Linked DNA regions of Homo sapiens: all the other regions are linked to region 1. Evidence: promoter capture Hi-C in 16 types of primary human blood cells and fetal thymus (Javierre and others, 2016). All regions are on one chromosome and are shown on one strand. Each heading gives the region's core, a stretch centred on a gene start or on the middle of the fragment in contact. The rest is flanking DNA. Distances are from core to core; before and after follow the strand shown.

Region 1 (4,144 bases), core at 945-3,444:
GGCCACAGAACCATTTTAGTAGGCATAATAAAGGCCTCCTCAAACTGTTAGAACTCGTGAATAGTTACCTTACATGGCAAAACGGACTTTGCAGATATGATAAGTTTACAGGGTTTGAAATGGAGATTACGTTGAGTTGTCCAGATAGGTCCAATGTAAACACATGACATCTAAAATTTGGAAGAGCGATGCAAAAAAATGTCCTCTGTAAAGGACCTGACCCGCTGTTGCTGGCTTTGAAGATGGAGAAAGAGGGTCTCTGAGCTAAGATATGTGTATGGCCTCAGAAACTGGAAACAGCTCTCAGGTTACAGCCAGCAAGAAAATGAAGACCTGAACCCTACAACTGCAAGAAAATGAATTCTGCCAATAACTCAAATTAGCAGGAAACTGATTCTCCCCTAGAACATCCAGAAAGGAATGCAGCTTTGCTAATAACTTGCTTTTAGTTAAGTGAGACCCATACCAAATTTCTGATATACCGAACTGTAAAAATAATAGATTTGAGTTGGTTTAAGACACTAAATTTGTGGTAATTTGTTAAGGCAGAAATAGAAAATGAATACAACCTATTTAGTTCAATCTTAATTCTAAAGGCCTTCTACTCTGAGATCACATAATCTTTACCTGCTTCTTGAACAAATCAGGATCTTGTTAGCAAGGAGAAAGGAGTGAGTGGCAGGGAGAATCCCAATGACCAGTGCTTGTCACAGACGGCTAATCTTAATCTGGTTTAAGTCTCTAGTTCTGTCTCTCAGAATTCTACCTCATGCTTTATGATCCACCACTTTCTAATCTATGGAATAGATGATCTCTTGCTTCTGTGCTCTTGGTAATTGAGTTCCGTCTGCCTGGAACACCTCCAGCCCACTGCCCATTACAAGTAATACTTAAGAACTAAGTGCTTGAATTCTTCACTCCTTATAAGAATCTTATTGAACAGCACTCACTATAGACACACACTTTTTATATTTCGCATTATGAAATACTTAAAAATGCGCAAAAGTAGAGAGAACATTACAATGGATCCCTATCAACCAGAATTCAGCTTCCATAATCAAAATTCACATTGATAAGTCAGAAATAACCAGCAATGTATTCCCACAGCAGGCTGACGTGTTGTCAACAGGGATGGTTTGATTTATATCTAAGCTGAGAAAATGGATTCAATTCTCCAGGATCTTAGTTATCGTGAACTCTAACAGCAAAAATGACAAAACCACTCTCAGAGGAGTCATTAAGTGCTACCAGTGACCAAGATGCGAGAAAAATCCTACTTCAGACTAGAACCTGAACAGCATGTCACAAGCGTCCTAAAATGGCTGTCACGTTACAGGACTTGCCCATAAGGTCAATTTTGGCCACTTAAGACTTACTTGAAGAGAGAGCTAAGGGTTTTCTTTTTAATTTCGTTTTTGTTTTTGTTTTTAATGGCCCACGTCAGTGCTAGCAATAGAGAAAATGTGTCCCTGATCCCTTGGATAAATCGAATTGACTGAAGAATGCTTGAATTCATTTATCCCAAAACAAAGGCAGACGGCTGAGGGTCACTGGAGTTTCAGGGCTGCTCCCAGCGTTGGAGCACGGACGCCAGAGCCGACTTCCCTCAGGCCCCGCACTGCGGCAGGGACCCTTCTACGGAGGATGGCTGGGGCTCCGGGAGGCTATAGGAACGCCATCTAGAAGCTAGATCTCAGGCAAACGAACGCGCTTTAAAAGGAATTAAAACGAAAGAACACAAACTCGAATCCTGGACCTGATTAGGGGCACGACCAAAGAAAGAAATAACTAACGGTTCTCACCCTCCCTTTCATTCCCTCCCGCGGAAAGAGAAAGGCTGGAACTCCGCTTCCCAGAATGCAAAGCGCGGGGCGGGGCTAAAGAGATAGCCTGTTTTCCCTCAAGTAGGATCGCGGGACCACAGGTTTGATTATAAACGCCAGTCTCTCGCCACGGCGCTCCTCCCCCTCAGTCTCACTGGTCCTGCCGGCCGTTGCGTGGAAGGGGGACTCAGTCGTCACTGGCAGCGGTTGAATGGAGGCTCTTTGCCCCGCGCCCTCACGGTAGATGAAGTCCTTGCTTTGGTCAGAGCGATAGCTTCTCCGATTGCCTCAGAGCAAGCGGACTACATTTCCCAGGGGGCTGCGGGACTGCCGGGAGGAGTGGGGGCGGTGCCTCACGTCTGGTACAGTCATCACAAGCCTGTTCGGCGGGACTGTGATGGCCAGAGAGATGACGATCTTAGGTGGGTTCCCGGGGGTCCTTGTTGCTCTTGCGGGCGTAGAGGCGATCTGAGGATGCCAGAGTGGGCAGGGGTGGTTGACTCACCTCCTGGATCTAGCTGGAGCAGCGGAAGGGGAGTCAGAAAGGTGACTTAGAGACGGTTTTCGGCTGTTCGGAGTGGATGGGGGCGGGGACGCCTCTAGGAGGGCCCCGGCCCCTGCAGGCCAAGGTAGGATAGACGGCGACCAGCTGTGTCCATCCCAGGGACATCAGGCTTAGGGAGGCGTTCCTTTCAACAGCACCTAGGTTTTTGAATTGCCTGTTGAATTGGGGCAAGCTATGGAAGGCTGCGAGAACGTGCACCTCCAGGACCCCTTTGTGGAGGAAGGGGGAGGAGCTACATCCGGATCTGTCGGCTCAGGGATGCTGAATTTGGAGGCTTTTTCCATCACATCGGGTTTGGAATTACCTATCCCCCACCCACACACACACCCACCCCGCGTCTCCAAGGTGATGAAATGCTTCTGAAATGTTGCCTGTAGCTGGAAGTGGAAAGTGGGATTCGCACTTGGTTTTATTTCTTTGAGTTATGTGTTGATGAGGATGAGCTAACAATTAGTAACACAGAGCCCTGAAAATTCATGTTTTGGGTCATATGTAATATGAGCGGACACAGGTGTATAACACAGCCTCCTGATACCAAATACGAGATTCATTAAAAACTAAAGGGGCATCTTTCTTCGCTTATGTTTACAATCTGCGTGGCATTTGTTCCTACTCTTTTTTCTTTTTTTTTTAAATTAGTATTTGTTGGGCATCTGCTATTCCTGGTCTGGGGGATACAACAGTGAACGAAACTTGTCTTCAAGAAGCTTTCATAGATGTTGCCGTCAGGGTTGCCCACCTTTATGCTTCTTCTCCCCTAAATATTACCACTGCAAGAAGGAAGTCCCTAGTTCATACTTAAATACATAAAAAGTTAACTGTGTTCTGTTTTGAAGTGACAGTTTCATATCTAAGGAACTTTCAAAATCATTTTATCCCATTTATTCATTTCATCCTTTTGAAAGGGAAAAGGAGGTGAGATACGAGGAGAGAATTTTAGACTTATAAAATAATAAAGTTTTTCTTGTGAGAATTTTAATAATGGAGCTTTTAAAAAAAGATAATCGAAGCTTTTTATAAAGCTGTAAAATCTAAATATCAATTGATCAAGAATATTAGATTATATCTGGCTTTTGCTCCAGATAAATGTTGTTTCTTGTCAGCATCTGCACAAATATTATTGAAATATTTTTACATTTTATTACATTTATTAGAGAATGACACAAACATACAGTTATAGGGTTTTTTGTTGTTTGTGTTTACTTCATTTTAAATTTTATTATAACCAGTTTACATTTTGAAAAACTTGCTGTCTGAGAGGAGTGCTATCAGCAGTCCTATAAAAAATTTTGAAATTTGTCTTTTTTAGCCTTGTTTCAACGAGTGATATTAAAGGGACTTTGCTACAGTAATTTAGTACATTGTACTAGTTTGATAAAATACATCTTTTAATTTTCCTTTATTTCAGGATCGGCTGTTTTGACTCTCCTGTTGGCCGGCTATTTGGCACAACAGTATTTACCATTGCCTACTCCTAAAGTGATTGGTATTGATCTTGGCACCACCTATTGTTCTGTTGGGGTGTTTTTTCCTGGCACAGGAAAAGTAAAGGTGATTCCAGATGAAAATGGGCATATCAGCATACCCAGCATGGTGTCTTTTACTGACAATGATGTATATGTGGGATATGAAAGCGTAGAGCTGGCAGATTCAAATCCTCAAAACACAATATATGATGCCAAAAGATTCATAGGCAAGATTTTTACCGCAGAAGAGTTGGAGGCTGAAATTGGCAGATACCCATTTAAGGTAAGTG
Region 2 (4,144 bases), core at 970-3,469, 1.1 Mb before region 1:
GTATGTCTTAATTAGCAACATGAGAACAGACTAACACACTGTAATACAGCAATGGCTTGTAGCTCTGTAAGTGACTGTCATCCTGCCCTGATTCCTCTCTCTAGCACAAAACAATGCCTATGTATTCTAATATCTCATCAGTTCTATAAAGGAGTGACTAATAAAAAATATCTTTAATTTATTCTTCTTGTTCCAAGAAGCAAAAGTGCTAAAGGTAAGTCTAATTTATTTCCAACATACATTAAACTGACAGTATGTGTAAACTACAAAAGGATCATAATTTTATTCTATCCTCGTTTGTTCATATCCAGAATTATTAATAAGAAAAATCAGGAAGCCTAGTAACTCTCGACACTATAATTCAGCTTATGAGAAATTTCTTTTTTTTTTAATTTACTTAACCAGTTACTTTTTATTGAATATTTTGGGTTTTCAACTTTTCACTCTTACGAACAATGCTAAAAATGAGCTGTCTTGTACGTAAATATTTGGTACCTTTTTCATAATTTCCTCAGGATAGAGTCCTAGAAGTGGAATTTCCAGGACAATAGGGCATGCATATTTGAAGACATCTAAGGCACCAAACTGCTTTTCAGAAAGATGGCACTCATTTATAGTACTATGGGTGGTAATTGAGATGACTGATACCTTGTTATTCCAAAGTTATTGCACTTGAACTTAAAGAACCATGGTTTGGGTTTACAATGAAGGAAGTGAGCAGCGTGCACTGTTCTATTACAGTGTTCTTCTGAAAAGACAGACCTGATAGGCCACTTCCGTGCTGAAAGTCTCCATTGATCTCTGCTGCCTGAGGAACCAAGTTTCTTTATATATATATATATATATATATATATATATTTTATTATACTTTAAGTTCTAGGGTACATGTGCACAACGTGCAGGTTTGTTACATATGTATACAAGTGCCATGTTGGTGTGCTGCACCCATTAACTCGTCGTTTACATTAGGTATATCTCCTAATGCTATCCCTCCCCCCTCCCCCCACCCCACAGAAATATCAATGAAGAGTCAATAGGTAATTCCAGATGCATATTATGTTGAGATGCATTTTTTACTATTTATAGGTCTAGAAGTCACTTGGATTAACGTTATTCTTAAATTTCCAAGATAGCTCCTTCTCAATTCATTCTCTTGGAACATCCTGAGTATATAACTAATATTCTTTAAGTGAAGCTATACAAAAAGATACACAATTTGATAAAGGTTTGTACTTTTTTCATCTTACTGTTAGAGTATTGCTATCCCAGTTTAGAATATGTTAGTTCCAGTGCCCAAGCCCTACCAGATCTGCAAATATTCATTTATAGAGGCATGTTTTTGTGTGACTCTTCTATATGTTAGCTGTGGCTGAAATATCCTTTGACATGATAACCTATGTCAGCTATAGCCACTACCCATGTAACCTCTCTGAAATCTTTCTCTATGGTTTAGTGACTCATGCAGTGTTTACCAAAATAGAGCAGTAGGACATATTAAACTTGGGCACCATACATTTTCACTAGAGAAAGTATTTGAATGCTCTGTAACTTCTGCCTCATAAGGCTACAGAAAGGCCCATCAGCCCACTCCACTCTGCCCCCACTACCATAAAGCTACAGATGTCTCATTATACACTGACCCAACACACTCTCCAAATTTTTTCACATTAATTCTGAATAACCAATTTGTAAATTCATGCAATTTAAGCAGGCAAAATAATTTGTTGATTCATGACCACCTTCTTGGTCCATTGGGCCAAGAATTAGAACAGCCGAATCCCACAGAAAAAAAGGGAATGACTAGTTGGATTATTTTTCTAAATGAGCAGCTACTTATGTAATTAGGTATTGCAGTGAATAGTCAATAAAATCATCTTTTGCATTATCTTATTCTATGAGGGCTGTGGACATTGACTACTAGAAAAGAAAATTATCTTGCATTTTGTTTAGCAAGGTGCGGTCAGTAAAATTTCCTACCACTTTAGTGGAAGTTCATTTGTTTTTCTGTCTAACTAAATAGTCATATTATTTCAGGAAGAAGCTTCTAGAGGCTATCTCCTTAATAGGATTTAAATATTGTTACACAGTATATGAAAGCCTCTCTAGTTTACTCAGTTTGTCACTGAGTGTATTTCTTTTTAATATTTTTATTAAAGTATAGCTTACATTAATTGTAATTGTATAGCTTGATGGAAATTTACGTAGTTTACACTAATGTAACCAACACCTTGATGAAGGTGTATAAATTTCCAGCATACCAGAAGTTATGCATTTTGCAATTTTTCTGAACTTCAGAGAATAATGGGTAATAATGGACTTTGCCCAACTCCTAAGCATTGTGAAGTCAAATAAAGTAAATTAAAATGCCATTGGGAAACTACCCAAAGAGAAAGCTTAGCATCAGTAGTAGTAAAAATTATGTAAGATTTCCCTTAACCTGGAGATCATTCTGTCATACTTTGTCCTTCCTATTGTATATAAACTCACAAAAACTGATGGCTTAGCTCTCAGCAGATTAAATATTTCAAAGTTAGTTTTTCAAAAGCAAATTTGAAAATAATGTTTAAGCAGTCAAAAGTATTTCCATGGCATGGTTCATTAATGTTTCATCTATACTTACTTAAGTGTAAGCAGTTTAAATTATGTAATTACTGCTTCTCCTTTACTCATGCCAAATTATATGTATGTTTGTATCTGTATTAAAAACCATTGCCAAACTATGTAATATGATCAGCATCTACTGGTGACAAACCAAGCAATAGGCTCGTATGGTTTATTCAGCTTAAAAGAAAAATAAAACAAAACAAAGCAAAACAAAGTAATTGTTGATATTTTCTTTAGGCGTTACTAGGATATTACAACAGGATTTTTTGTTTCTGGTTTTATTTTTCCTAAAAGTTAATTGTCAGCATTAACACATTTTTTTAACATTCTCTAAAGAGTACATACATAACCAGAAAAATCAGCAGATTTGAAACAATAGAAAAATGTACAATTTTTTCAATGATTGATGGATTTAGTTGGATTATTGGCATTAATTTTCTTTTTCTTTTTTTATGTCATATGAAGTATTTATTAGGCAGTTATACATATTGTTATGATAGGAGGAGTAATGTACATTGAGTATTATTGGCATTAATTTTCTACTCATATGTATTCAGTCTTTCACATATATAAATATACATGCCTACTATATTTTTTATATTTCTATTATTATGATATATTATTTTAACTCTCTGTAAGGACAAGTATCACTTTGACTGCAACAGAACTTTCACCTCTTTGTTGGGCTTTAGCTAATATTCCTAGGACAGTCACAAATATAGCTCCAGAGAGTTACGGGTAACTCCAAGAGATAAATTGTTGTGTCTGCAGCCCAAGCTAGGAAACAGGTTGCCCATGGTGAGATTTATTGACTTCAACTTTCGTTTTTTAAAGTAACTAAATTAAACTAACATTGACTCTGAGTGTCCTGAGACATTTAAAACAATGTATACGTTTAGGAAAGGATTATTGTTGTGACAATCGTAGTAAATGTGATGGTTTTGGAACTGAATAGTTTCATTGCTCTGGGGCTATCTTTGATAACTCAAGTAAAGAGAATAATATTTGCTGAAAAGTTATAGATAGGAATTTAGTGTCTATGAGAGTTGAGGGAGAGGTAGGAGCCGATTAATAGCATTAGTTTGAGTGGCATAGCCAGGATATTTGAAACATCCTCCTCAGAGTTCTTTTAATACTCTTCAGGCCTGACCTGAACACACAGTACTTGTCCATCTGCAAAAATGCAGATTGTTAATCTTTGCCGAACCCTTTCCAGTTACTGAAGAGAAACGTCCAAAAAGTATAGTGATGCCCCAATTATTTAAACAGATTGAAAATGATTTTGGAATTTAGACTTCCTAATATAATTATTTAAAATGTTAAAACAGATTATAATGTCATAGATAGACTATCAATCACTGTCACGGTCATTATGTTTAAAAAATCCTTATTGTGATAGAGAAGTATAATTAAGTGTTTACAGGTAAAACGTTCCAGTGATTGAGACTTGCTTTAAACATCGGTGTTTGGGGAATACATGAAATGAAACTGTCAAGATATTGGCACATGGGGCTCATTACTTATTGTCTCTACTTTTGAG
Region 3 (4,144 bases), core at 918-3,417, 1.1 Mb before region 1:
CCAAGAATAGTCCATTACATTTGACCCTATTAAGAGTTATTTCAATAGAAATAGGGACTGAAAGCTGATGGCTGATAAGGACTGGAATGTAGACTGCTCTTTCCATAATCTTGTCTATGAAGGAAAGAAATTGAGCTGAAATGGGGATCTAGAAGTACTAATAGGCTGACCTTAGGTTGCAGATAAAAGGAGTTGTGAGAATGAGCAACCTTGTTTGATGAGGACAAAATAGGAAGTCTCATCTCTTAAGGAGGAATCACGTTAAAGAGGTGACTATATAGAGGGAGAGCTGGGTGAAGTGCTTGAATGAACAGAGGAATTTATTTACAGGGAAATAAGGTTTCCAGAGAGTCGCTATGGAAAGAATTTAATGTAATTATCCAGCCATATATGATAACCAACTCTGTGCCCGGAGCTATGGGGTAATGGGGAAAGAAGACATTATTCTTGCCTCCAAGGAGCTAATGGTCCAATAGAGATGCTTATCTCATTAAGAAACATTTAGTAAGAACATACTGTGTGCTGGAAGATACTGTTCTAGGCACTGAGGATACAGCTGTGGTTACAGAACTATCTAGGCCCTTAGAGGGATTTGATTCTAGTGGCAGCAGACATGCAAAGAAATTCTTTAACCATTTATATCATAGCTGCTACCTCTCACAAATTGGCAATCGTCTCCATTTTTACACCCTATATGGAATGCAAAAATAGAGGGGATTGTCAGTTCTATGAGGTGCTGCAGCTAGGGGGAGGCAGGTGATGGTTCTTCTTTGCAGAGGTGATTGTGATGAGTCTTGAAAGGACAGTGGGTTTTCACCAGGTGGAGCATGTAGTCAGGGCAGGCAGATGGAACAATGAGAGCAAAAGCCAGGAGGTTGGCCGGGAAATTGAGTAGGAATGGAAGGATGAGTCATAGGAGAGGAAACTGAGTAGCATGAGGATGAGGATGTAAGAGACCAGATGACGATGGCAGTGTGCATTTTGGGTGGAGGCCAATGATGGCAGGAATGAAAAGTTCTGTAGGATTAAGTGGCTCCAAAGTTCTGAAAGACTCTGCTTAGAGTGGTGCTCACTCTGGCCAAAGAAAATCACTGATGAACGCTACAGTCTACAGCCCAGCCCAGTCAGCAGGCTTGGTCAGGCTTCCAGAATAAATGCCTGGGCAAAGTAGTCTGTGGCTCTGTTGGGCTAGGCCCAGCATGACTGGAAGGACAGAGGTGAAGTGGGATCACAGGCCCGATGGAAGCCAATGGGAAGTGAAAGTTCCACTGAGTCTCATGGATACACAGCTATGAGGAGGCATCTAGAGAGACATTCCCATAAGGACTCTGGCAGGCCACATCATCGCGAGCCAGGGATCCTCACTTCCCTGTGGAGTCCAGTTCTCATCCAAAATAAAAAAGGTCAGAATCAATGAAGCTTTAGGTCCTTTTTAGCTCTGAAATTCTAAGAATCTACTTGTGAGCATGATTTATTGAGACAAAGAAATGTGCTTTCCTTGTTTTTATTTTTCTAATTTTACTTTGGTACAACCCCTTTCTCAAAAAAAAAAAAACAACAAAAAAACGACTTTTTAGTAAAGTGCTCACCACATAATAGAAGTACAATTAATAAGTAATTAATTGATTCATTTCATCATGACAGGAAATTTTTATTCTTCACATTAAAAGTTAACCAGTCATTATAAGTTCCATGTGCAAATATTATGAATTGTATTTTCATTATAGCTTTTCTGCTTACATTTTACTTTAGTTGACTGACTACAAGTGCTTCCAAGTTTTTCTCTTTGAGATTTTCAGCTGGCAAATCAGCATGCAAATTAACCTGCATCCAAAAATCTGGGTCCCAAAAGTGGGAGGGTTGGGGATGAATAAATATCATTTTTATAGAGATTTTCAAATTTAAGAATATTCACTGCCATAAGTTATATCATTATTTTGTTCAAATAAATATTGGAGCATAAATCAAAAACTTGAAAGATGATAAAATGGCAGGCAAACTGGATTGTTTACATTGATCTACAGGTGTGTTCCAAATCTTTGAAATTTGGGAAGAATCTCTCTCAAGTTATTTTCATATCAGTAACTATTTAGGCGATTTTCCACTTCTATATTTCTAGCATTCTTTTGACTCAATGTAATTTTCCTTTTATTAATTTTACCCTCCTTCACACTGAGAGTCGGCTGTGATTTTGTCCATATACTCTTCACTCCTTTGTAGGTAATACACCTAGTGACCAAAAATGAACTCGAATCCTGACTCATGGGGCATCTCTGGACACTGTCTTCTGGTGGAAAACTCATCCACTGGCCCTTGATTGCACTGGCATTTGTCATTATCCTTGTTTACAGTCTTTGAGCCTGTTTTCAATCCATGCAACAGCATTTCTGTCCAAATCCATTTGTACGACTTTTTCAGTTTGGATTTCACAAGGCATTGGTATTACGGAAGGTCCGGGTATATGACATTTACACATTCCCTTCCTCCAGTCATTTTGTAATTAGATTCTTTTAAAAGTAGGGGTGGCATGAGTGAGGGAATATCAAGTTCCACCGGCGCAACCTGCCTGTGCTGTCGCACCACCTGGAGAAAACTCCCCTGTGGAAGTATCGACGCCGGCACAAGTTGAATACCCACGGTAAGCTGGAGGGGTTTTTAATGGAACTGAAATACCAGCTGCTCCTCACATTCCTCATGCCATATTGTCCAATGAAGCAGCCCCTTTTTCATCAGCTCTAGCCAGGAATCGTTGAGTCATTTTTGATCCACTTTTATCGTTTGATCAACGTTTGATCTATGGGATGAAGTCAAATTGTGAGTCCATCAGCTTCCCTCACTTGTGCTGTTTCCCTCTCTCTTTTATGCACTCAGTTATTAACACTCACTTCTAACCAGCTGTACCTCTGTAAAGCTTTATTCTTTGGCTTAAGGTAGTCACTTAGCTGTTGCAGGCTGTTTTAGTCAGCTGGTCAAGTTGACCCTGGTACCATGGGCACAGTCCGTCTTATTACTCAGGCACTTCATGTTCTTAAATGAAGTCGCCCTAAAACGTTCGCTTATATTGTCTCTCATCTTCAGTGGGCTGAGAGCAAGCACAGCTATCTGGATTTCATTGCATTTTTTTTTCTTTTTTAAGTCTGGAGACATTTAATCCCCAATAAAAGTCAGCAGAGCTTGTGTGGTTGAGGTAAAATGGTGAGCAGGGGAAGAGGCGGTGAAGTCCTTGCCTGTGCTGTCTAGGAGCATTCTTATCTTAATACTTCTGTAGAGTCTCGTGCTATTTTCAAACAAAGACAATTTTAGCGTAGTTCCCTAAATTTTGCCCCCACCCCTTTTTTGGCAAATCACCCTGATGCAAAACTTTCAAAAGGCTAAAAAAAAAAATACTGACAACAAATTATTTTAAGTGGTATGTTCAACTGCTGTATATACAAGAATGTGTCTCTAGTCTCTCCTTCTCCAATGAAATTAGCCAATAGTTTTAATTTTTCCTCATTTTCTAAAGTGTCTTACTCTTCTCTGACTGTTTGAACTTTGCACTGTGCAGCTTTCTCAAATCTCTGCACCAAAAATGAATTTTATAATACTTGACCTTTTAATCTAGCAAATCAGACCCTTTTGTAATTAAATTAAACTTTTCATAGGATGAACCGAACTATCAAATGTCATCTTATCTTTAGCAGCAGAAGCTGGTGCAGAAACATCAGACACTGTAGACAATAAAGAATCAAAACAAATCATTAACACCAGTCTAAATGCCTTTAGACTGTTTTACAATGTCTTCATGCTTATCTGTTGAAAATAAGCTGTCAAAAACTATGTTGCTGTCTGTTCAAAGAATACAAAGTAATACACTAAGTATATTTGCCTTGAAGCTGTCTGGAGCAGCTTTGAAAAAGATTAGCAACTTAGTATGGACATATGAGTGCTGAGGCGAATGGAATTGCCATTTTGGGGACAAGAAGCACTAAATGTAGATGTGCTATATTGTGCTTATAAGGTTGCTCTTTGCTAATAAAAGCTAATGGAAAATGAGAAAGAATCAATTATTGATAGAATATATGGAATGAAAATAAACATTAGAAGATAGGGGCTAAACTGCCATTAAACATTTAGATATATTTGAAATCCTTCTTAACATTTT
Region 4 (4,144 bases), core at 1,106-3,605, 1.1 Mb before region 1:
ATTGTTTCTAGGTTTGAAAATTATCACCTGCCTGAGGCAAATAACTAACTAAACAAAGGAGTTCTAATACTTGAATTGTAATTTCCCACATAATATACGTATTTTTGCTCAATCTCTCTTGGGTTAGGAAGAGCTGAACTCAGAAGTTTGTTTCCTTCTGTCATCAATAATATTTATAATAGTTCAATTACATTTCATCTATTATTTATGAGTATTGAGAGATAAAAAGATTTTTCCTACATTGGAGTAGATAAGTATGTCATGATTAAGAAATTAATCACTTAAGCACCAACTTAAAAATTGATTCAAAAAATATTGTGAATTAAAAAAATAAATACTGTGTGGTCAAGACTATCCCAGGGAAAGTATTCATTTTATGCAATTTGAATATCATCAGCCCCTTAGTGAAAACCTGCTTCTATGAGGGAGCATTACGTTGTTTTTCACCATGCTTGATTTATGTCACACAAAATAATCCTCCTCCTCTTTCTATTATCTGTCCAATGATAACTTTAAATTCTTTACTCTGGGCTAACCAAATTTTTATCTATTGTCATGTATTATTATGTAGTCTCAATATGACTTAATATATAATGGAAGTAAATATGATTGAAACAGAACTTGTAAAATGCAGCAGAAAGATATGGACCCCAAAGGCCATAAAGACAAACTAGGAGACTGAAAAGTGCAGCTTGCCAAAAGTCTTTGGAGTCAAATGTTTTATTTCTTAACGTGAAGTCTTTAGGGAATTGGATCAAATCAAATAAAAAGAGACATGAGAAAAGTGAAACAATCACAGAAATAATCATTTATTGAACATCTACTACATACTAGACTCTACTCTTCATGCTTTATGTGCATTAACTTGTAATCTTTACAGCAACTTAATGAGGTTGTTACTATTATTAGACCAATTTTACAGAGTAGAAAACCAAGGTCACACAGTTGATAACTGACAGAGTCACAATTGCATCCTAGCAGTTGAGCTACTAAGCCCATGGTTTTATTCAGTATGCTATGCTACCTCTCAATTCAGTTAATTAATAGCTCAAAAAGATCTTCTCTCATAATAAATTATTATAATTGTTATTTGAAATTAGTATTGTTAGCTATAACTGGAAAAAAATCTGATTTCTGTTTTCAAAGAATGTTTAGCTAATGGGTTATCTATAGATTGGATCTGTAAAATAATGCAATTTATTTTCTTAAAAGTAGCAACATTTATAAATCCAAATGCTTATTGTCCTTCTCAGAGCGGTTACCTTGGGAGACCTTATATTTATGTCAAAGAAGCTATCATTACTCAAAATATTTTTGCTTTGTCTTTTTAAATTGTCTTGGAAAACTGGGAATCTTAAAAATATTTCTGTTGGTAGTAACATTAAACTTTTATTTTATTTTATTATCATCTTATTTTTTAAATTAATTTATTTATTTTTGAAATGGAATCTCACTCTGTTGCCCAGGCTAGAGTTCAGTGGCATGATCTCCACTCACTGCAACCTCTGCCGCCTGGGTTCAAGCAATTCTCATGCCTCAGCCTCCCAAGTAGCTGGGATTACAGGTGCTCACCACCACGCCCAGCTAATTTTTGTATTTTTAATAGAGAGAGGGTTTCACCTTGTTGGCTAGGCTGGTCTTGAACTCCTGACCTCAAGTGATCCACCCACTTCAGCCTCCCAAAGTGTTGGGATTACAGGCTTGAGCCACTGTGCCCGGCCATATTAAACTTTTAAATGTGGATTTGAATGTTGGAAACAAGTTTTGTAGATAAAAATCCAGTTAACCAAAATTAGATGTAATTCTAAACAAAAATGAGTTCTTGTTGAGACTCAGGATGGCCTTTATTTCAGGTCTACAACATTTAAAATGGTTGGAGAATGGGGCAATGACAGTTTTGGAGTTTACTAAATTGTCTAGCTTACTAAGGTGTCTACAACCTTGAAGCAACAACTTTTGTTAGTGTAAGCTCTGATATGTTTTATTAAAACAGACAATATTAATAGCTCATAGATCTGTGCCTAATATCTTGCTTTAACTCATAAGTGGGTTGGATGTTTCTGAATTAATAACAGAACCATTGTTTGAGTGTTCCATGTTGATCCTAATGGCAATAAAGGTGAATGGTTGATATTTTTTCTCTTTGTATAAAGAAGTGGTTTTTCTGCAATTTTACTTCATTAATGGATATCACATATATTTCTCTGTCAAACCCTGTTATGAAGGAATTCAGTTTGCCTTTCTGGTCGAAAGGAGCAGATTTCTGCCCGTTTTTGAATAGCAGATAAGTAAATGGGAGAGCATGCACTAAGCCTGGTCCTTCATATCACTTGCTACGTGAGTAGAGACTGGGCCATTGAAAATTATGTATACCCTGGGAAAATGTTCCATTAACTCATTATTCTGAACCAAAATAAAATAAAACATTTTTATAATATTTTCAGTGCACAAGTTTTAGCCAAAGAAATCAAAGTTATGATTTAGATGAATTTTAGTGTTTCAGTGTAATTTCTAATAGTCTTATCTAGAAATGTTTGAAGTGGACCAGTGGTTTCCAACCAAGAACAATTTCCTGATCCAGGGACATTTGGGAATTTCTAGAGGCATGTTTTATTGACACAACTGGTGGAATGCTACTGGCACCTAGAGAGTAGAGGCGAGGGATGCTGTGAAACACAATACAATGAGCAGCAAATCCTCCCACAAGAAAGAATTATCAAGCCCCAAATGTCAGTCATGCTGTGACTGAAAAACTTTGGTCTAGAAGAACTACCAATGAAGACAATAATAATAAGTTAAAGCAATAACTTAAAATAAATAGACACAAAGTTAAGGTATGCAGAATATTTAAAATAAATGTTTAGAGCACCAAATGTAATACCACAAATTATTTACCTCTTCAAATCTAAAGATGAATCACTCACTGTAGTGAATGGAATGGTGGTTTCCACATAAGGTATGTCCACCTGGTACCTGGGAATGTGACCTTATTTGGAAAAGGGATCTTTGCAGAGATAATTAAGTCAAGGATCTCAAGATGAGATCATCTGGAATTATCCTAATTGGCCCTAAATTCAATGAAAAATGTCCTGATACATAGAAAGGGAGAAAACACAGGGGAGAGATCATACAAAGACAGAGGCAGAAATTGGAGTTATGTAACTACAAGCCAAGAATCTGAAATAGACAAGGAAGGATTCTCCCCCAGAGTCTTTGAAAAGTGCATGGTCCTGTTGACACCCTGATTTCAGACTCTCGCCTCCACAACTATAAAAGAATGATTTTCTGTAATCTTGAGCCACCAGTTTGTAATTCGTTATGACAGCCCTTGGAAACTAATACGCCTGCTAATTATCCCTGCTCAAAAGAACTCAGGGAAAAAAAAGAAAAAAAAAGTGAGAGAACACTTCAAGGGCATAGGAGGTTTGAAATAGTTGAAAGGATCAGGACGGACCTGTGTGAACCTTTAAGTTTGCCAACAGAATGGGTCAAAAGGTTCTAAGCCAAATCAGTCTCCCAGGGAACCCTCTACTGGACATAATGTTCAGCCAGCTTGAACTGGCTGTGAGGGATGAACTCTGTATAGCTACTTACCCAAAAGCCAAGACCAGAACCAAAATATATCTAAAAGGTCAAGTCCAGAGAGGTAAAGTTTGTTAGGACGTTTATCCCGTTTCATCTTGAATGTGAAGAACATAGTATAGTATGTAGCACACCTAAAGAGAAATAAGCCCTATCACGAGAGAAAACTTTGAGGATAACTCTTTACTTGTTTTTCTCCATTCAGAACATCAGAAACATGAATCTGGTATAGAAGGCTTTCCAAATCCAAGGTTCATTCATTCAGCAAATATTCACTGGGTCTGTTGTTCTAGATATCTGTCCATCGAATCCTGACAGCAGATTCTTCAGCTCCAGTCTTTATGAAGAGGACAAATGGATTTGTTAGTAGTGACTGATTCACAATTTACCATAATTTCTTGGACATGATACAGGCAAATATGGGCATCAGGGTTTGACTTTCCACTTTCTCTGGGGTAAGAAGCGGGTAGCAATCTTTAATCAGCATTTTTGTAGGGAACAGCAACAGCATTTTTTAAAATTATTCTTTGCCTTACAAAGTCTGCCTTGGAATGTGTGTGTG
Region 5 (4,144 bases), core at 887-3,386, 1.1 Mb before region 1:
TAATACATGCTGGGCTTAATATCTGGGTGATGGGTTGATAGGTGGAGCAAACCACCATGGCACACATTTACCTATGTAACAAACCTGCAGGTCCTGCACATGAATCCCAGAACTTAAAATAAATAAAAAAACAAGCAAACAACTTAAATGGATATTTCTCCAGAGAAGTTATCCAGATGGCCAATAAGCACGTGGAAAGTTTCTCAACATCATTATTTATGAGGGAAATGCAAATCAAAACCACAATGAGATACCACTTCACATCTGCTAGAATGGCTATACATAAACAAAATAAAATGGAAAATAACCTCTGTTGACAAGGATGTGGAGAGATTGGAACCCTCATACATTGCTGATGGGTATGTAAAATGGTACAATCCACAGTGGAAAACAGTTTTGGGGTTCCTTAAAAAGTTAAACATAGATTTACTACATGATCACAGTTCCATTCTTAGGTGTATACCTAAAAGTACTGAAAACAGATATTCAAACAAAGACTTGAACATGAATGTTCACAGCATCACTATTCACAGTAGTGAAAAGATATAAAAAACCCAAATGTCAATCAATGGAATGGCCAAGCAAAATGTAATATGTGTGTACAGTGGAATTTAGCCATGCAAGGGAATAAAATACTGATAATGCTACAACATGGATGAACCTGGGAAGTATATTAAATAAGAGAAGCTAGAAATCAGACATCACATTTTATGTGATTCCATTTGTATAACATATATAGAACAGGTATGTCTATAAAGAGAGAAAGAGCACATCTGTGTTTGCCAGGGTATAGGTAGTTGGGTAATGGGAAGTAACTGTTTAGTGTGTGTATTAGTCCATTCTCAAGCTGCTAATAAAGACATACCCAAGACTGGGTTATTTATAAAGGAAAGATGTTTAATTGGCTCAGTTCTTTACAGTTGGCTAGGCCTCAGGAAACTTACAATCATGGCAGAAGGGGAAGCAAACATGTCCTTCTTCACATGGTAGCAGCAAGGAGAAGTACCAAGCAAAAGTGGGGAAAGCCCCTTATAAAACCATCAGATCTTCTCAGAACTCACTCACTATGACAAGAACAGCATGAGGGTAACTTCTCCCCTGATTAATTTACCTTCCACCAGGTGGCTTCCATGACACATGGGGATTATGGGAATGACAATTCAAGATGAGATTTGGGTGGGGACACAGCCAAACCATATCAGTGGGTTTGGGATTTCCTTTTGGGGTGATGAAAATATTTTTAAACTAGATAGAGGTGATGGTTCCACAACATTGTGAAGGTAATAAATGCTACTGAATGTACAGTTTAAAATGGCTAGTTTTATGTTATGTAAATTTTACCTCATTTTTAAAAACAAAAAAATACACCCACTGGAAATGTATCAGTATAAACGGGGCCTAATGTGGGATTGTGCTCCAAATTCATATCACCCCCTGACTGGTAGTGCTAGTTGATGAATGCCATAAGAAAATACACATATTTTTGGAGGAATACACTCTCAATCTAAGACTCAGAATAGCCTCACAGAAAAAGTTTCATCAAGCCTAAACTCACAACAACAACAAAAATAACAAAACACAATGGAAAATAACATATTGAGACCAAGAAAGAGGATAAACAACAAAGAATACAAAGAAAAGAATCAGATGCATTAAGATCTCAGATATGGAAATTACTGCATTTAGAATATAAAAAGTAAGAATACTGTTTTTTCTTTTAAAATTTAAAAATTTTAAAATCTGTACTAAATTTTTAAATCTCTACTTTTTTTCTTTTAAAATTTAAAAATTTTTAAGTCTCTACTAAAATTTTTAAATTTTAAAAGAAAAAAAGAAAGGCATCAAATGTGTGAGGAAGGCATAAGACTGTGGAGACTGATCATGCAGAATTGCTAAAAAATTTTAAAAACAGAACTTACAGTAGTAAAAAATATAATTATTGAGATTAAAAACTCAATGGTAGAGTATCAGATACAGCTGAGGAGAGAATTTACAACTGGAAAATACAGCAGAAGAAATGACTCAATATAACATGGGTAAATATTTGGAAAACATGAAATAGAGGTTAAGGGACATTACAGTAAAGTTAGAAGGTCTGGCTTATTGCTTAGAATTTCACAAGAGAATATAGAGAATGGAGAAAAGTCAGTATAGGAAAAAAAATGGCTAAAGGCTTCCCAATATTGGTGGCAGACTAGATTACATCAGAAGACCTCAGTGAAATATAAGTAGGTAGCAACAAAAAAAACACACACCTGAACACACCTTAGTGAAATTTCAGCTCACCAAAAACAAAGCAAATATGAAATAACTACAAAGGAATGAAAGCAGCTACAATGGAAGCCAGAAGATGATGAAAAATGTCTTCAAAGAGTCAAGAGAAAATGACTATCAAATAATTATATACTAGGTGAAACTACTTGAAATAAAGCCATCATCAGATAAACAAAAGCTAAGTTTTTAGGAGCAAATCTTCACTAAAGGCTATTGTAAAGACTGTACTTCATTAAAAAAAGAAAATATACAAGAAGAAATGTGATGCTTTTAAAAAGCCCAATAATAATGCTGGGCAGGGTGGCTCACCCTGTAATCCCAGCACTTTAGGAGGCTGAGACGGGCAGATGACCTGAGATTGGGAGTTCAAGACCAGCCTGACTAACATGGAGAAACCACATCTCTACTAAAAATACAAAATTAGCAAGGCATGGTGGTTCATGCCCATAATCCCAGCTAGTTGGGAGGCTGAGGCAGGAGAGTCGCTTGAACCCGGGAGGCAGAGGTTGCAGTGAGCCGAGATTGTGCCATTGCACTCCAGCCTGGGCAACAAGAGCAAAAATCCATCTCAAAAAAAAAAAAAAAAAAAAAAAGCCCAATAATGAAGAAAATACTGTACTTATTTAATTTAGAAAACTGAAGTTTGGAGTGTTTCCCCAAATCTACAAATAGCAATTTAGAGTTGGTGTTAATATCCTGTTCTATATGACTCAAAGCATGTATTCTCCTATAATATATATATAAAATACTTGACCCGGCTGCATAGGTTTGCTTGGGCTGCCATAACAAAATATGATAGACTGGGTGACTTAAACAACAAATCTTTATTTTTTCATGATGCTGGAGGCTGGGAAGTCCGAGATCAAGGTGCTGGCTGATTCCGTTTTTTGTGAGGGCTCTCTTCCTGGCCTGCTGATGGCCCCCTTCTTGCTGCGTTTTATACTGGGGATTGGAGTTTCAACATATGAATTTAGGGAGGACATATTTCAATCCATAGCATCATCCTTCCACATTTTTTAAATTCCTGAAAGTTAGTTATAAACCCGATGATTGAATTCACTCTAATTCTCTCATATTTAAATGGGAAATTTTGTGCAAATTATTCCTTAGTCTCCATACCAAATTCCTTGGCAACCCATGTTTTCCCTGCTGTGTATCAGGAAGCTAACCCCACTGAATCTTTTTACTGACAGGTTACAGCTGATATTTTGCCACAGGATGTACTGGCAGGAGCTGACTGAGTTGCAAGGAAGTAAAGCCAGGGTATTTCTTCTCTGCTGCCCTGTGGCTTCAGCACCACGTCTTGGGCAGCTGCTGCATTTCTCCAAAACTACAGCTCCAACTGGGCGGCCCCTCCTCTGTGCTTCCAGTTCTCGCTGGGTTCTGTTAACATTATTTCTTCTCATTGTCCCTTCAGCCCAAGAGGTTGTAATGTTGCTAGTCCCTGGGTAAATTATTTATTTGCTCCTAAAACTCTGCCTATGCCTTTTTGGAGTGCTACCGTTAACATATCTTCACTTAAACCATTTTAAGGGTGAATCCCATTTCTTACTGGGACCCAGGACCTAACAGGCCTTGCTTACATATTGCATTTAAATTAAATCTCAGGTTTATGGTACTTACATGCCATTCTACATTTGTATTTCAGAAAATATATATGTACATAGACATCCATTTCATTTAGGGAGAGAAAAAGGAAAAGGATAAAGTAAGATGTCAGAAGGAATGAAAGGGACCTTGCAAAACTACATAGAGAAATCGTCCCTTATGCCTTTAGAAAAACCTCACATTACCAAAGGGTCTCTGGCAAAGAAGCCATACAGAAAAAAATGCCCTTTTGTCTTCTTATGCATAAGTTGAACATCATTAC
Region 6 (4,144 bases), core at 1,165-3,664, 1.0 Mb before region 1:
TCATTATCCCCACCTGAGCTATGAAGAAATAAGATTTAGAGAGATTAGAGAGATCTTGTTTTTGTGTTTTTCCCACACTAGTAAACCATTATTCCTCACTGTCCACACACGCATAGCAATGAGTTCACTCCCAGCACTAGAGCTCTATTCTGTTTATGAGTGAAGACCAAATGACTCTTCTGAGGCAGAGGCACTATTTTATACTTTAAAAACAAATACCCTGTCTGTGCTGGCAAAGCCCCTCCAGTTCTCTGTATGCTTGCATGAGAAGAGGCAAAAGGGAAGAGCTCAGAGGAGGAGACTGTGTTCCGTCCTCACCAGTTGGAGGGCTCTGCCTGGGCCACCTCACTTCTTGGAACCTTGGTCTCCTCATCTGTAAAGTGAGGAGATTGCTGATATGGTTTGGATGTTTGTCCCCTCCGAATCTCATGTGGAAACGTGATCCCCAGTGTTAGAGGCGGGGCCTAGTGGAAGGTATTTGGATCATGGGGGTGGATCCCTCATGAATGGCCTGGTGACCTCCCCACGGCAATGAGTGAGTTCTCACTCTATTAGTTTACTCAAGAGCTGATTGTTTAAAGCAGCCTGGCACCTCCTCCTCTCTCTTGCTCCCTCTCTTGCTGGATGACACACCTGCTCCCTCTTCATCTTCTGCCATAAGTAAAAGCTTCCTGGGGCTTCACCAGAAGCCAAGCTAATGCTGGTGCCATGCATATATCGCCTGCAGAACCATGAGCTAAATAAACCCCTTTTCTTCTTAAACTAACCAGTCTCAGCTATTCCTTTATAGCAACACAAAACACATTACACTAATGTAATGGCCCCACACTAAGGAGTGGCATTGGTTGATGCCCCCACACACCCAAATGCACCATGCTCTTTGGCTGCTGTACCTAATGCCTTCTTGTTCCTTTTAAAACTTTCTCATGGGAAAGAAAGGAAGCTGTTTCACCAAGAAATTGATAGTGGGTACCAGCTTAAAGGGTTACTTCTCAGAAATGTTTGCATTAAAATTAATATCTGGAAGGTGATATTTTAGTAGCCATCATCAATATGTGTATGGTAAGGAAGAACATTTTTGTGGAGTAACATGGGAAGTGTGTTGGTCACCTAGATGTCCCACCCAGATCCTCCTGTAGGGAGAGATGTGGTGCCCAGCTTCAGGGCATGTGGTCAGCAGACAGCCTCCAACCAGTGCCCCCTTGAGGTTGACCTCAGCTACAGAGTGCAGCCTACCTCTCCTGAGGTCCCACCCACTCCAGGGCACCTGCATCCAGCGATAAGCAAAGGTGTGTGTGAGGGAAAAAGAAGACCCTGCTACATGGGGAAACCTGACAGGTAATTCCCTCTTCAGAGCTCCCTTTTGGGATATCTAGGGCTTTGGTTCACCTTTAATATTGCAGGTCAGTTTCTCTCCTACCTACCAGCAATGGATGCCCAGGTGGGACTGGGGGAAGGGGGAAGTGGGAAGAGGTGCTGTAGAGAAAGACAAGACATCTCATTGTCTGTTTTCAAAAGCTTCATTTAATGCAGAAGAATGGGGAAACACATGTACAAAGGACCATAGTAAGAAACAGAAAAAGCAGGAAAACAAGGAATCATGGATGTTTTCTCAGGAAAGTACCTAATTGTGGAGGTCCCAAGAGACAATGATGTCGTAATGGCTGAGATTCTTCCTGGAGGACTTTGGGAAGTGTGAAGCTCAGAATAGTATCTGGCTCACTTCCTGTCCTCCCGTTTCTGTTTAGGACTCTCCTGAGGAAGGTGCTCAGTTCCACTGAGTGAAATAATAGTACATTTATGGCCACAGTCTTGACTTCAAAATGACTCCCAGATTTCAGTTTTTCTGCAGATCCTTTCAGGAAACTGCAAGCTATGCTTGGCTTTCTGTCGCCATACACACATCTATCACACCAAAAACATGTAACTTATGTCAGGACAAGTTTAATAACAGGATAATTTGATTTCTTAGGTTTTTAACAGAGGACATCATGCTATCTGTTCTTGTTTAAGAGCCACAGAACATGAAATGGTATAGTAAAAGGAGTGGTTGATGTCAGTGGCTAAGCCCTGGATGGCCCACAGAAAGGTCAGATCTTGGTGTCAAAAGTCACAGAGATGCCACATGGCCTCTCAATGAATGCAGGGTGAAGTATTACCCCTAAGAAATACTGGCCATCAGAACAAAGGGAGTTTACTATTGTGCAAATTATTACTGTTTAAGGGATGACTCAATTTTGGTGATTATACTAGTATCATCCAAAAATGGAGCTTTTGAGTTTGCTCCAGATTTTGAAAAATTGATTCTTACTGAAGAGGACTAAAATCTCTATGTCAGCGTTCAGTGTCTTAACACATTATCTTCTTATCTACAGGCAGCTTAAACCAGTATCTTAAGTGAACGGCTGGAAGCCAGGAATTTTGAGACTGGGTACAGCCTAGTAGAAAAAGCATGGGTAATGGGGCACTATTTAAAATCTCTTTTTGAAAGATTTGAAAATCTTGAATTTGAAAATCTTGAATCTCTCTTTGCCAGCTAACCAGCTGTGAACATGGAGCCACTTCTAAGATCCTTCTGAGCCCCAGTTTCTGAATCTGCAAAAGAGGGACAATCCTTCTTGCCTTGCAGAATTATTGTGAAGTTTACATTAGATCCTGTATGCTATGCACAGGATGTATGAGGCTTACAAAAAGCCTTTTCTTATAGCTTCTTGGTGAGGTAGAATGAGTTCATATTGCACAAGAGTTCATTTTCTGAATCTAACTTACCCATCGTATGAGAAATTAATAATTAAATGGTTGTGACATTTTTATCATTATGACATAGCAGAAGAATACTTAACAATTGAAGTAACATGGCATTCATCATCAATCTCATTTTGAGAGGGTCGACTCACAAATAGAACTTCTTTTCTTGCTTATGATATTCATACAGCTATATTCATATCTTTAAAAATTATGACATATCTTTTATATTTTTATATATTTCATGCTTTATATTTTCAAATATAAGTACAGTTAATATACAATCTTCTTTTGCCTTTGAATTTCACTTTCAGAGACATGTTTCTATTTCCCAATATTTGCCTCTTATCTATAATAAAAGTCACCATCCTCTTCAAAGTGTGTTGTGTCAATGTGCAACCTCAGTATACTTAATTCTCTGACACACACCCTCTGAGAAGAGTGGTGAGAGTTGCAAGGTGAAGCTCTCTTCTTTGGGGCACTCATTCAGAATATACGTAGACCAAAAGACAATTCTTGTCTCACTTTCATTATGATTTCCCAATGAGCCTCCTGAAAAGCTTCTACCGTTAAATTGATTATGCGTAAAATATAATTTATGAACTTGAATAATCACATTTTTAATTTTTTGCAGCTGAAATGATATGTGATGTACAGTTTAAAGGGTTATCATCTCCTTTCAGAAATAATCACCTGGTTATAAACCCATTACCAAGATAGTAAATAAGACCAAAATCTTCACTGGCTTTGAAGATAGACTTGGTTTGAAATATTCACCCCACAATAAATTGCTTGTATAAATTTGGGAAAATTTTTTGCCATTTTTGAGCCTCAGCTTCCTCATCTGTTAAGATTGGGTTAGTAATGATACTACTTCAAGATGACATTATGAGATGGTGAGAGAAAGCACATAGGGCTTTCTAGAAAAATTCTGTCTCATCTGAAACTTGAAAGAGGTATAGTGTTAGCCAAGCCAAGAAGGTGGGAAAACTGGCCTTAAAAGAAATGATCAACTCTGCACAGAATATTCTTTATGGTTTTATCATACCAGTGATGGCATCTCTTGTCATATACATGCATTTAGGTCATAAACTACATTTTATTTAGCATTGAACATCTCCAGCATCCCCCTGCCTTTATAGGAATAAGCAACAAAAGATAAACTGAACTACATTGAAAGTAAAAGCTTTTGTGTTGCAAATGATACTATCAAGAAAGTGAAATGACAACCCATAGAATGGAGAAAATATTTGTAAATAATATGTGTATAAGAGATTGATATATAGATTGTTATAACTGTTATAATAACTCCTACAACTCAATAATAAAATGCCAAATAATTCAATTTTCAAATGGACAAAGGATTTGAATAAACATTTCTCCAAAGAAAATATAGAAA

Evidence for each region. The method cuts DNA at HindIII sites, captures the fragments that hold promoters and counts their contacts. A CHiCAGO score of 5 or more calls a contact.
Region 2: a contact is called between a fragment that was not itself captured here and the fragment with the promoter of HSPA13 in region 1, in 9 of 17 cell types (naive CD4 T cells, total CD8 T cells, fetal thymus and 6 more). The highest score is 13.5, in naive CD4 T cells.
Region 3: a contact is called between a fragment that was not itself captured here and the fragment with the promoter of HSPA13 in region 1, in 8 of 17 cell types (total B cells, activated CD4 T cells, non-activated CD4 T cells and 5 more). The highest score is 7.3, in total B cells.
Region 4: a fragment that was not itself captured here is called in contact with the fragment with the promoter of HSPA13 in region 1 in 4 of 17 cell types (total CD8 T cells, naive B cells, activated CD4 T cells and 1 more); the score reaches 5.5 in total CD8 T cells.
Region 5: a fragment that was not itself captured here is called in contact with the fragment with the promoter of HSPA13 in region 1 in 1 of 17 cell types (monocytes); the score reaches 5.0 in monocytes.
Region 6: a fragment that was not itself captured here is called in contact with the fragment with the promoter of HSPA13 in region 1 in 1 of 17 cell types (M1 macrophages); the score reaches 6.5 in M1 macrophages.

What each region holds. Positions count from the first base shown.
Region 1 is chr21:14,381,196-14,385,339 of GRCh38, reverse strand. It overlaps HSPA13 (heat shock protein family A (Hsp70) member 13), which reads left to right and starts at 2,194. Exons shown (of 5, transcript NM_006948.5): 1 at 2,194-2,245; 2 at 3,797-4,137. The coding sequence starts at 2,221. LOC105369304 (a long non-coding RNA gene) reads right to left here and starts at 2,574. Exons shown (of 2, transcript XR_007067924.1): 1 at 1-2,574. RefSeq lists enhancers at 1,658-1,787, 2,178-2,487. The HindIII fragment of the contact is 7,322 bases long and covers 1-3,097 here.
Region 2 is chr21:15,514,884-15,519,027 of GRCh38, reverse strand. No RefSeq gene overlaps it. Among named protein-coding and RNA genes, the nearest start is that of USP25, 210 kb to the left of the region's middle. The HindIII fragment of the contact is 352 bases long and covers 2,044-2,395 here.
Region 3 is chr21:15,492,975-15,497,118 of GRCh38, reverse strand. No RefSeq gene overlaps it. Among named protein-coding and RNA genes, the nearest start is that of USP25, 230 kb to the left of the region's middle. The HindIII fragment of the contact is 1,492 bases long and covers 1,422-2,913 here.
Region 4 is chr21:15,471,675-15,475,818 of GRCh38, reverse strand. No RefSeq gene overlaps it. Among named protein-coding and RNA genes, the nearest start is that of USP25, 260 kb to the left of the region's middle. The HindIII fragment of the contact is 7,421 bases long and covers 1-4,144 here.
Region 5 is chr21:15,445,818-15,449,961 of GRCh38, reverse strand. No RefSeq gene overlaps it. Among named protein-coding and RNA genes, the nearest start is that of USP25, 280 kb to the left of the region's middle. The HindIII fragment of the contact is 7,816 bases long and covers 1-4,144 here.
Region 6 is chr21:15,428,326-15,432,469 of GRCh38, reverse strand. All of the region lies in intron 2 of LOC101927745 (a long non-coding RNA gene), which reads left to right. Among named protein-coding and RNA genes, the nearest start is that of USP25, 300 kb to the left of the region's middle. The HindIII fragment of the contact is 1,787 bases long and covers 1,521-3,307 here.